Linked DNA regions of Homo sapiens: region 2 is linked to region 1. Evidence: promoter capture Hi-C in human tissues and cell types (Jung and others, 2019). All regions are on one chromosome and are shown on one strand. Each heading gives the region's core, a stretch centred on a gene start or on the middle of the fragment in contact. The rest is flanking DNA. Distances are from core to core; before and after follow the strand shown. Region 1 holds the start of ACSF3 (acyl-CoA synthetase family member 3). Region 2 overlaps CDK10 (cyclin dependent kinase 10).

Evidence for each region. The method cuts DNA at HindIII sites, captures the fragments that hold promoters and counts their contacts. A contact is called where the count stands out against the background at its distance.
Region 2: a fragment that was not itself captured here is called in contact with the fragment with the promoter of ACSF3 in region 1 in 2 of the 25 tissues and cell types used here (dorsolateral prefrontal cortex and lymphoblastoid cells).

Annotation. Positions count from the first base shown.
Region 1 is chr16:89,091,798-89,097,245 of GRCh38, reverse strand. It overlaps ACSF3 (acyl-CoA synthetase family member 3), which reads right to left and starts at 3,394. Exons shown (of 11, transcript NM_001243279.3): 1 at 3,250-3,394. RefSeq lists enhancers at 1,222-1,391, 2,611-2,800 and a silencer at 3,221-3,630. The HindIII fragment of the contact is 24,302 bases long and covers 1-5,448 here.
Region 2 is chr16:89,688,572-89,691,941 of GRCh38, reverse strand. CDK10 (cyclin dependent kinase 10) reads right to left here. Exons shown (of 13, transcript NM_052988.5): 2 at 2,618-2,690; 3 at 1,318-1,389; 4 at 397-499; 5 at 55-136. Among named protein-coding and RNA genes, the nearest start is that of LINC02166, 3.3 kb to the right of the region's middle. The HindIII fragment of the contact is 5,257 bases long and covers 1-3,370 here.

The DNA.
Region 1 (5,448 bases), core at 2,145-4,644:
ACCACAAAGAACCGAGTTCTGACAAAGCGAGTTCAAGCTCGTGCTGTGCACACGGTAACCACACGCTGAGCACACGCTAACCACACGCTGAGCACACACAGCACACACTACCAGAGCACAGCCCCCCTTTTGGCATTTCTACAAATTCCTGAGTCACCCCGCAGGGCGAAGCCACGGAAGAATAAGAGTGGATTCCCCACAAAACCCAGAGCTCAGCAGAGCTGGTGATGCTGACGTGCACAGCTGGGCTGGGCAAACTCAAAGTGCAGGCTGAGAAGAAACTGCTGTTCTCCTGCGCGGAATCCAGAGCGCTGCCTGTGGGTGGGCACTCCTGCCACCAGCCCCTGGGAGGTGACAGATGTGACTGGCCCCGTGTGACATGGTCCCAGCTCCCAGAGAGCCCACGCGCTATGAGGAGAGGCCACGGGCAGGAGGAACGGACGGGGGCCTGGTGGGGAGGCTTCCTATGGAGGGTGAGAAGGGCCTGGCCTAGCCAGAGTCGGCCGAGGGAAGGGGGGAGTCCTGGCACCTACAGCTGTGTTCACTCGGGGTGTCTAGGGCACAGATGCCGGGAAGTCACATTGCTGGGTCATCTTTAATTTTGAGAAATACTGACAAAGTCCCCTCCAACGAGGTGCTGATTTATTCTCCCACCAAGCATGTGGAAAACGGAACCAGCCCCATCAAACCAGCTTTTCAGTCCCTCAGGCTTGGGACAATGAAGTGCCCAGTCATCAGTTCTCTTCAGCACAGAGGTTGAATCTTCACGGTCATCGGATCAGAGCCCTGCCTCGAACACGCAGACAGAGCCTACTCAGGGCAGATGGCTGTGCGCGGTCTTCCTGCACACCTCCCGGTCCAGAGGCACCCCAGCTTCCTCAGAGAGAACCTCACCTTTCAACCACTGGGACCCCTTCTACCGTGGGGCTCCCCATCACCACCAGGAGCACAGTGTGGAGGGACACTGCCCACCAGACAAATGCAGTTCAGTCAGGGGCTTCCACCCTCAGCCAGCTTCATACCCCTGCTACGCAGCACCCTGATAACCCGAGGTCAGCGGCGTCACCACGTGGCTGGGCAAGGACTCTAGTCAGAAGCTGAGAAAGGTGCCTGAGCCAGGACAGCCTCCTTGGTGAAGGCGTACTGGAACCACTGAAAACAGTGGCTCTCCAGCCCTCGGGGAGGGAGGCAGGACCTCTCGGTGTTCTAGCCATCAGGTTCTGAGATCAGACCACTAAGGCACTGGGGCTTCTCGGGAACACACATGCAGCGCAGCGGGATGCATCTTTTCCCTCCTAACTGGAGTGCTGGTTAATGGCAGAGTTAGTCACCACAGGCTTCGACTTGAACGGCTGCTGCCTTTGTCCTCATTTCCTCACTGGCCTAGCCCTTCACTTCCCACCGCTAAGATGGCACAGTAACAAGACCTGCCTCACAGGCTTCACGTGAGAATGTACGAATGGCCCGGCACAGGCCAGGCAGAAGACAAACGGCCGCGCCGTGCTCAGCAGGGTGCTCCCCATGGAGCCTCGCAACAAAAATTACTAGATGAGAATGACACTCGCATTCAAATGAAGGGCTGCTTTCAACATGAATAAAACGACACCTGACCTGTTCACCACCACACCTGACACCCCCGCCCCCCCAGACCTTGTGTTTGAAGTGGATGCCGGCACTTCCTCCTGTCGGCTGCCCCGATGAGAGCGTGGGGCAGAGGAGGGCTGTGCTCGGCCTGCGGGGCAGGATGCGTTTCAGCATCACACCTGTGGTTTGGAGGGTTATTTTCAAAATTACATTTTTAAGTAACAGACATTCACATTGCATTCATGAGCAGTACATTCAAATAAAAAAAACCAAAAAGGAAAAATACACTTGAAACCCATATCCATTTTAGGAAGAAAAATACTATTTTAAAAATGCCATCTGGAAAGGTGACACTTACAACTATCCCAAGCCCACAGTTTAATCCGCCATTTCTGTCTGCCTTGAGGAGATGGTTCAGAGCCAAAGGAGCAAGAGCAAGGGAAGCCTCATCTTATGTCCTCCAACACCTGCGGAGAGGACACCAGCCTGAGCCAGGCTTCACGCTACAAAGCTCGCAGGGTCCCCAGGGTCCACCGGTAGTAACACCCGTGCTCCTGGGTCCACCATGTGAACCCCCTCCTCAACAAGGTCTCAGCCTTGGGCCCTAACACGAATGTCTGTCCTCCCAGGATGGGAAAGCAACAACTATGCCCCAGACACAATTCGTGTTCCTATCTCTAAACGTGTTCCCTTTCTAGCAAATTCCTAATCATTCTTCCAAGCCCAGTTCAAATATCACCTCTTCTTTTTCAGTTTTATTATTTATTGAGACAGTGTCTTGCTCTGCCACCTAGGCTGGAGTGCAATGGTGCTGTCATGGCTCACTGCAGCCTCCGATTCCTGGGCTCAAGAAATCCTCGTGCCTCAGCCTAACCAGTAGCTGGAAGTGCAGGTGTACGCCACCACACCCAGCTAATTTTTACATTTTTTTGTAGAGATAGGGGTCTCACCATGTTGCCCAGGCTGGCTTTGAACTCCTGGCCACAAGTGATCCTCCTGCCTCTGCTGCCCAAAGCGCTGGGATTACAGGCATGAGCCACTGCACCTGGCCTGCCTGGTGGAATTTAGACTCAGGACAGCAACATCAACTCCTGACTGCACCGGGCCTCACCCCTTTAAACCTTCCCTCTCTCCAGGGAATGGGCTGCCTGCAGTACCTTCCAAATACTTCACGGCCGGCCGCACGTCTCCATTGCTTGCTCATAGATCTACATGCCCTCAGGGGCTAGGCCGGCTGTGAACCTGTGCCCCACGCGCCCAGCAAGGTGCACGCAGCAAACAACTAAAACGGGGAGTACTTCAAGGGTGACTTCTGAAGCCCAATGAGAAATGGAAGTGAATTTATTCCAAACACAACCAAAGACGATTCGTTCTGAGGATGCCTGAACACGGACCCCGCCGGCTCGACGGTATCACCGGGCCCGGCGTCCGCACAGCTTCTCTCCCCGCACCCCGCGCGGGGGCCCCGCTCCCCACCGGACACGAGAGGCTCGGCGTCCCGGGAAGGCCGACGCCCGGCCCCAGGCGGCTCGCGGGGAAGCGACCGCGCCACGGGCCACGGCTCAAGCCCAGCTGCGACCCAGGGGCGGGCGCCGGAGCCCGCGCCCCCGAGAGCTCTGCGCCCGGCCGACCCCGCCGCGGTCCCGTGGGCCCCGCCGCCCGCACCTACGAGACGGCCGCGGCCACGGGGCAGGATCTGCCTCGCCACAACTCTTCCTCGTCCTCCGCCGCGCGCGCGCCGGGGTCGGGCCGGGTTCCGGCCGGGTCCCGCGGGGTCGTGAGTCGGGCCGGACCAGTTCCGGCGCCCAACAGCTTCCCCGGCGCGGCGCGTCCGTCGCCCAAGCGCGTCCCCCCGGCGCGGCGCCGTGGCGGCGGGTTCCGGGCGCGCGTGTTCCCCTGTCCCGCCCGTCCCGTCGTGGCGGGGTCGGGGCCGCGGGCGTCTCGTGAGCCGTGGCCGAGGCAAGGCGCCGTGGTCTCCGCTAGCCCAGGGCTGCCCAGATCAGAACGGCGCGCGGGACCACTCCCAACGCGGATTGCTGGGCCTCGCCCCGTCCTCCCAAAAGGGGCTCTCTGGGCTTTGCGGCTGGGGGTCTGCACGCTGAGCTCCTGGGTGATTTTATTATTATTATTATTGTTGTTACTTTTTCTTATTATTATTATTATTTTGAGATGGAGTCTCGCTCTGTCGCCCAGACTAGAGTGCAGTGGTGTGATCTCGGCTCACCGCAACCTCCGCCTCCCGGGTTCAAGTGATTCTCCTGCCTCAACCTCCCAATTAGCTGGGACTACAGGCGCCCGCCATCATGCCTGTCTAATTTTTGTATTTCTTGGGTGATTTTAAACGGACCGCATTTGAGAATCTCTCCTCGAAGGGACTTGGGAACCAGGATACGAATATGAAGCGAGACTGTTGGATGGACAGTGGCGGAAAACATTTAAAGCCAAACACAAAGTCCAGTTGGCTGAAATTTGAGGGTTTTTCCCCTAAAATGAATACTAATAACACAAAGACATGTACTGGCAAACAGTAGTACAAATTATCTGCAGAACCGTCCTGGTGTGATGGCTCACGCCTGTAATCCCAGCACTTTGGGAGGCCGAGGTAGGCAGATCACGAGGTCAGGAGTTCAAGACCAGCCTGACCAACATGGTGAAACCCTGTCTCTCCTAAAAATACAAAAATTAGCCGGGAGTGGTGGCAGGTGCCTGTAATCCCAGTTACTCGGGAGGCTGAGGCAGGAGAATCTCTTGAGCCTGGGAGGTGGCGACTGCAGTGAGCTGAGATTGCGCCACTGCACTCCAGCCTGGGCAGCAGAGTGAGACTGTCTCAAAAAAAAAAAAAAATTATCTGCAGAACCTTGCACAGTTTTTTTGTAAGTGTATTATTTTCCATGCCCATCTTCCTCTCTTGTGATGATTGCTGGGGCAGCAGTTGTGTCCTTGGAAAGCTCAGGAAAGGGCACTTCAGGAGCCCGAGGATGGTTTTCCTGGGAGGAAGGAGCTGGATCTGGGGGAAGTTTGTAACACAGAGCGTGGGAGAACAAACCCAAACTTCTAGTGCCTCTGGTTGCCACCCTGCTAGGTATCATGCAGAAAAAGCAAGTCCAACCCTCTGCCACTGGGACAGGCTTGATCTGGTGTCAGAATTCTGTCTGCTTCCAGGACTCAGCAGGCTGAATGGTGTTTCCGACGAGGGCAGTAGGAAGAGTAAGGAGGGCGTCTAACATCAGGATTCAGCCCCAGGACGTGTGTGCGCAAATTTCTATCCCTGGGAAGTTGAAGAGCTCAGGCTGCGTCACCCACCTAGAGACAGGACTTGGGACAGGGTGACAGCTCCCGTGGTCCTTGGCCATGGCTCTGTGAGGGTGGCAGTGGGGGGAGGGTGCAGTCTCCGAGAAATGGCCCAGTCATCCTATGAGCAGGGGTCCCATCTGTGCCTCGGCTCTGGTCAGCATCATAGTGGCAGGTGGGAAGCAGGAGCAGTCAGGGATTAGCAGACATTGGAGGACAGCCTCTAGCCAGAGAGACGTGGGCTGAAACAACCAGCAGAACAACTGCAGGCAGCCAGGCTGTGCAGAGTGAAGAGACCCCCAAAACCACCCCCTGTTAATACCCTCAGGGAGACAAGGGAAGCGACAGCCCCCATGAGTCCAGAGCGAGATGCCCCGAGAAAGAGCGTTCCAGTAACATAAAGGGGGGCTGGAGGGGTCAGAATACAACAGCCTGAGTAAAAACCCTAAGGGAAGGGCTAAAGGACGTCTCCTAGAAATAGAACAGAAAGACCGAGAGATGAAAAACAGGAGAGGAAAGATAAAAAAATCAGTGGGCTCAGGCAGGCATCCAATATGCTAAATACGGTAGTTT
Region 2 (3,370 bases), core at 863-3,362, 600 kb before region 1:
ACCACAAGGGCCCATGAAGCCCATTCCCCCACCCCAGGCCCCTCTGCCACGCACCTGAGCCTCCGAGAAGGGTGTTGGCATATTCTCCAGGAGGCTGGCCAGGTCCTGCTCACAGTAACCCATCACCAGGAAGATGCTGGAAGAAACAGAAGATGCATGCCACTCTCCGGCCTTCTCCTAAGGGGTGGAAGTGGAGCCTCCCCTGCTGCAGGAGGGGACATGGGCAGGACAACCTGTGTCCCCCTCAGACAATGGGCTGAGCCAGGCGGTGAGGTGGGGTCATCTCTTCTCTGACAACCTCATGCCCAGTGACACTCAGTCCTCGCTCTGTGCAACACCTCTAGCCCAAGACACATGCTCCCTAGGGCCCAATGTGCAGACCAGGAGACCACGTACCTCTCCAGGTGGTTCCCCACAACCACCTCCTTCAGCTCCACGATGTTCGGATGACGCAGGCGGAGCAGCAGCGTGATCTCCCGCAAGCTGCTGATGGGGATGCCTGGGGAGGGAGGTGGCCTCAGCGAGCCCCACCCCAGTGATGGCGGGGAAGCCCCAACCCCAGCCACTCTTGGGCTTCACGAACACCTGATAGCAGGTGCTGCAGTGTCCCCACCTCAGGGAGAATTGGGGCGACCCCAATAAGCATTTTTTTTTTTTTGAGACGGAGTTTCGCTCGTTGCCCAGGCTGGAGTGCAATGGCACCATCTCGGCTCACCGCAACCTCTGCCTCCCGGGTTCAAGCAATTCTCCTGCCTCAGCCTCCCTAGTAGCTGGGATTACAGGCATGTGCCACCACGCCTGGCTAATTTTGTATTTTTAGTAGAGATGGGGTTTCTCCATGTTGGTCAGGCTGGTCTTGAACTGCCGACCTCAGGTGATCCGCCTGCCTCGGCCTCCCAAAGTGCTGGGATTACAGGCATGAGCCACCATGCCCGGCCCAATAAGCACTTTTAACTCTTCCTTGACCAAATACGAATCGGCACCTCTCTAAACACCGTGGACATCTATGTGGGGCATGGCAGGGCCCTGCCTGCACAGGCAGGTGCTGGGGGTGGAGGGGACAGCAGAGCTGAGCCTGCAGTGAGGTGGCCTCACCAGACAGGAGGGGGAGGAGGGGATGGAGACTGCAGAGCCCTCCTGGCAGACAGCTGAGGCTGCGTGTGGACCTGGGGGTGATGTGCTGGGCCACACCAGAACCCTCCCAGAGGCCGGCCCCCGCTACAAGCACCGTGCAGTCGCTCTGAGGAAACTTCAGGTAACTCACATCCTTCTGCCTCCTCCCAGTGCGAGGTCCCAACACCCCAATTTCCTGCTCACCATCCTTCTCCTTGTCCATCCGCACCTTCTTCAGTGCGACAATCTCATCTGTCTGGGTGTCCCGGGCCCGATCTGGAATGGAAACACATTGGTGATGACATCATCTCGATGCCCCTCGTGGGCTCCCTAGCGCTGAACGGGAGGCTCTCCCTGAGCCACAGGGGTCCCCGTTCTTTCCTCTGACAACCTCATGCCCAGTGACACTCAGTCCCCACTCTGTGCAACGCCCCTAGCCCGAGACGCGTTCCCCCGGAGGGTTTCCTCATTTGAACTGGGCAGGGGGTGCCCAACTTTGCTCTGTGCTGGACCCTGGCCTCCAGCCACTCAGTTCTGTGGCTCCAGGCTCTCCATGTCCTCCTTAGCATGCAGATCACTGCTTTGTGCTCTCTTGTAATGTCCTAAAAGCAAATAAGGTACTCTATGCAGAAAAAAGCAAACCTTATTTTGTGTGAAGATGGCTCTACAAAACATCCTGCTAATGTGTGCAGCTTCCAGAATGACCTACGCCAATTTCACATCTGTTATAACCTTTAGTTGTGTGTGGTGTTTTTGGTTTTTTTGAGACAGGGTCTCACTCTGTTGCCAAGGCTGGGGTGCAGTGGCGTGATCACAGCTCACTGCAGCCTCAAACTCCTAGGCTTGGCCGGGTGCAGTGGCTCACACCTGTAATCCCAGTGCTTTGGGAGGCCGAGGCAGGAGGATCATTTGAGCCCAGAAGTTCAAGACCAGCCTGGGCAACATAGGGAGATCCCATCTCTACCAAAAATTTAAAAATTAGCTGGGTGTGCTTATGTACTCTTGTGGTCCCAGATACTCAGGAGGCTGAGGTGGGAGGATCACTTGAGCCTAGGAGGTCGAGGCCGCAGTGAGCTATGATCATGCCACTGCACTCCAGTCTGGGCAATAGAGCAAGACCCATCTCAAAAACAAACAAAAAGAAAAAACACCTGGGCTCAGGTGACTCCTCCAGAGTTGCTGAGGTGATAGACATGAGCACCATGTCCAGCTCCTGCTGCTTCTGGAAAGTTCTGTATTTTATTTCTCTAACAGTTCTGTGTACTCTGCAGTGACACGTTTGGATTATGGGCATTAGCAACCGGATGCTTACGTTTACCCAGAAATGGTACAATGTTTGTGATAACTACATCAGGAATTGAAGTTCCTGAACAGGTTTCTGCCCTGTTTCAGAGCACAGGGTCTGAGTCCCTTCCAGCCCCAACGCGGCTGCTGCTTCGACAGTCTCGTCCCACACTGTCACAGCCACGAGCTGCGGCCACATGTCCTAGCCTTGGCCACTCACACACAATGCCGTAGGTACCCTCTCCAATGCGGTTCAGCTTCTCAAACTCCTTCACACTCCGGCATCGTCCCAGCTGAAACAGAAGGGTGTTGCCAGTGTGGAAATTTGGCAGCTGATGGAACAACTGAGGAAATTTCAAATGGAATTTGTACCAGGGAGCCCACTCACGTCTTGCTCACCAAACAGAAAGGCAACCACACGTTTGGGCTTTTTTTTTCTTTTTTTGAGACTGAGTCTCGCTCTGTTGCCCAGGCTGGAGTGCAGTGGCAAGAACATGGTTCACTGCAACCTCCGCCTCCTGGGTTCAAGTGATTCTCCGGCCTCAGCCTCCTGAGTAGCTGGGATTACAGGCAGGTGCCACCACAACCGCCTAATTTTCTATTTTTAGTAGAGACTGGGTTTCACCATGTTGGCCAGGCTGGTCTTGAGCTCCTGACCTCAAGTGATCTGCCCGCCTTGGCCTCCCAAAGTGCTGGGATTACAAGCGTGAGCCACCGTACCCGGCCTCTTGGGCTTTTCTGATGAGAAAAGGTGGTGACGATACTGGGCCAATGCTTTGAAAGAAATATCAGAGGCGGCCACTCAGATACTCCCTTTCAATCCCACATACAAAAATACATCTGTGGCAGAGGCTGCTGTCCCAGCATCCCTGTATCACTACCTCCTGGAAGTTATGAAACGCTACCCAGTGGCATCTGGCCTTGGAATGTGAGCTGAAGGGACCGTGTGACTTCCAGGTGAAAGGAAGCTTTC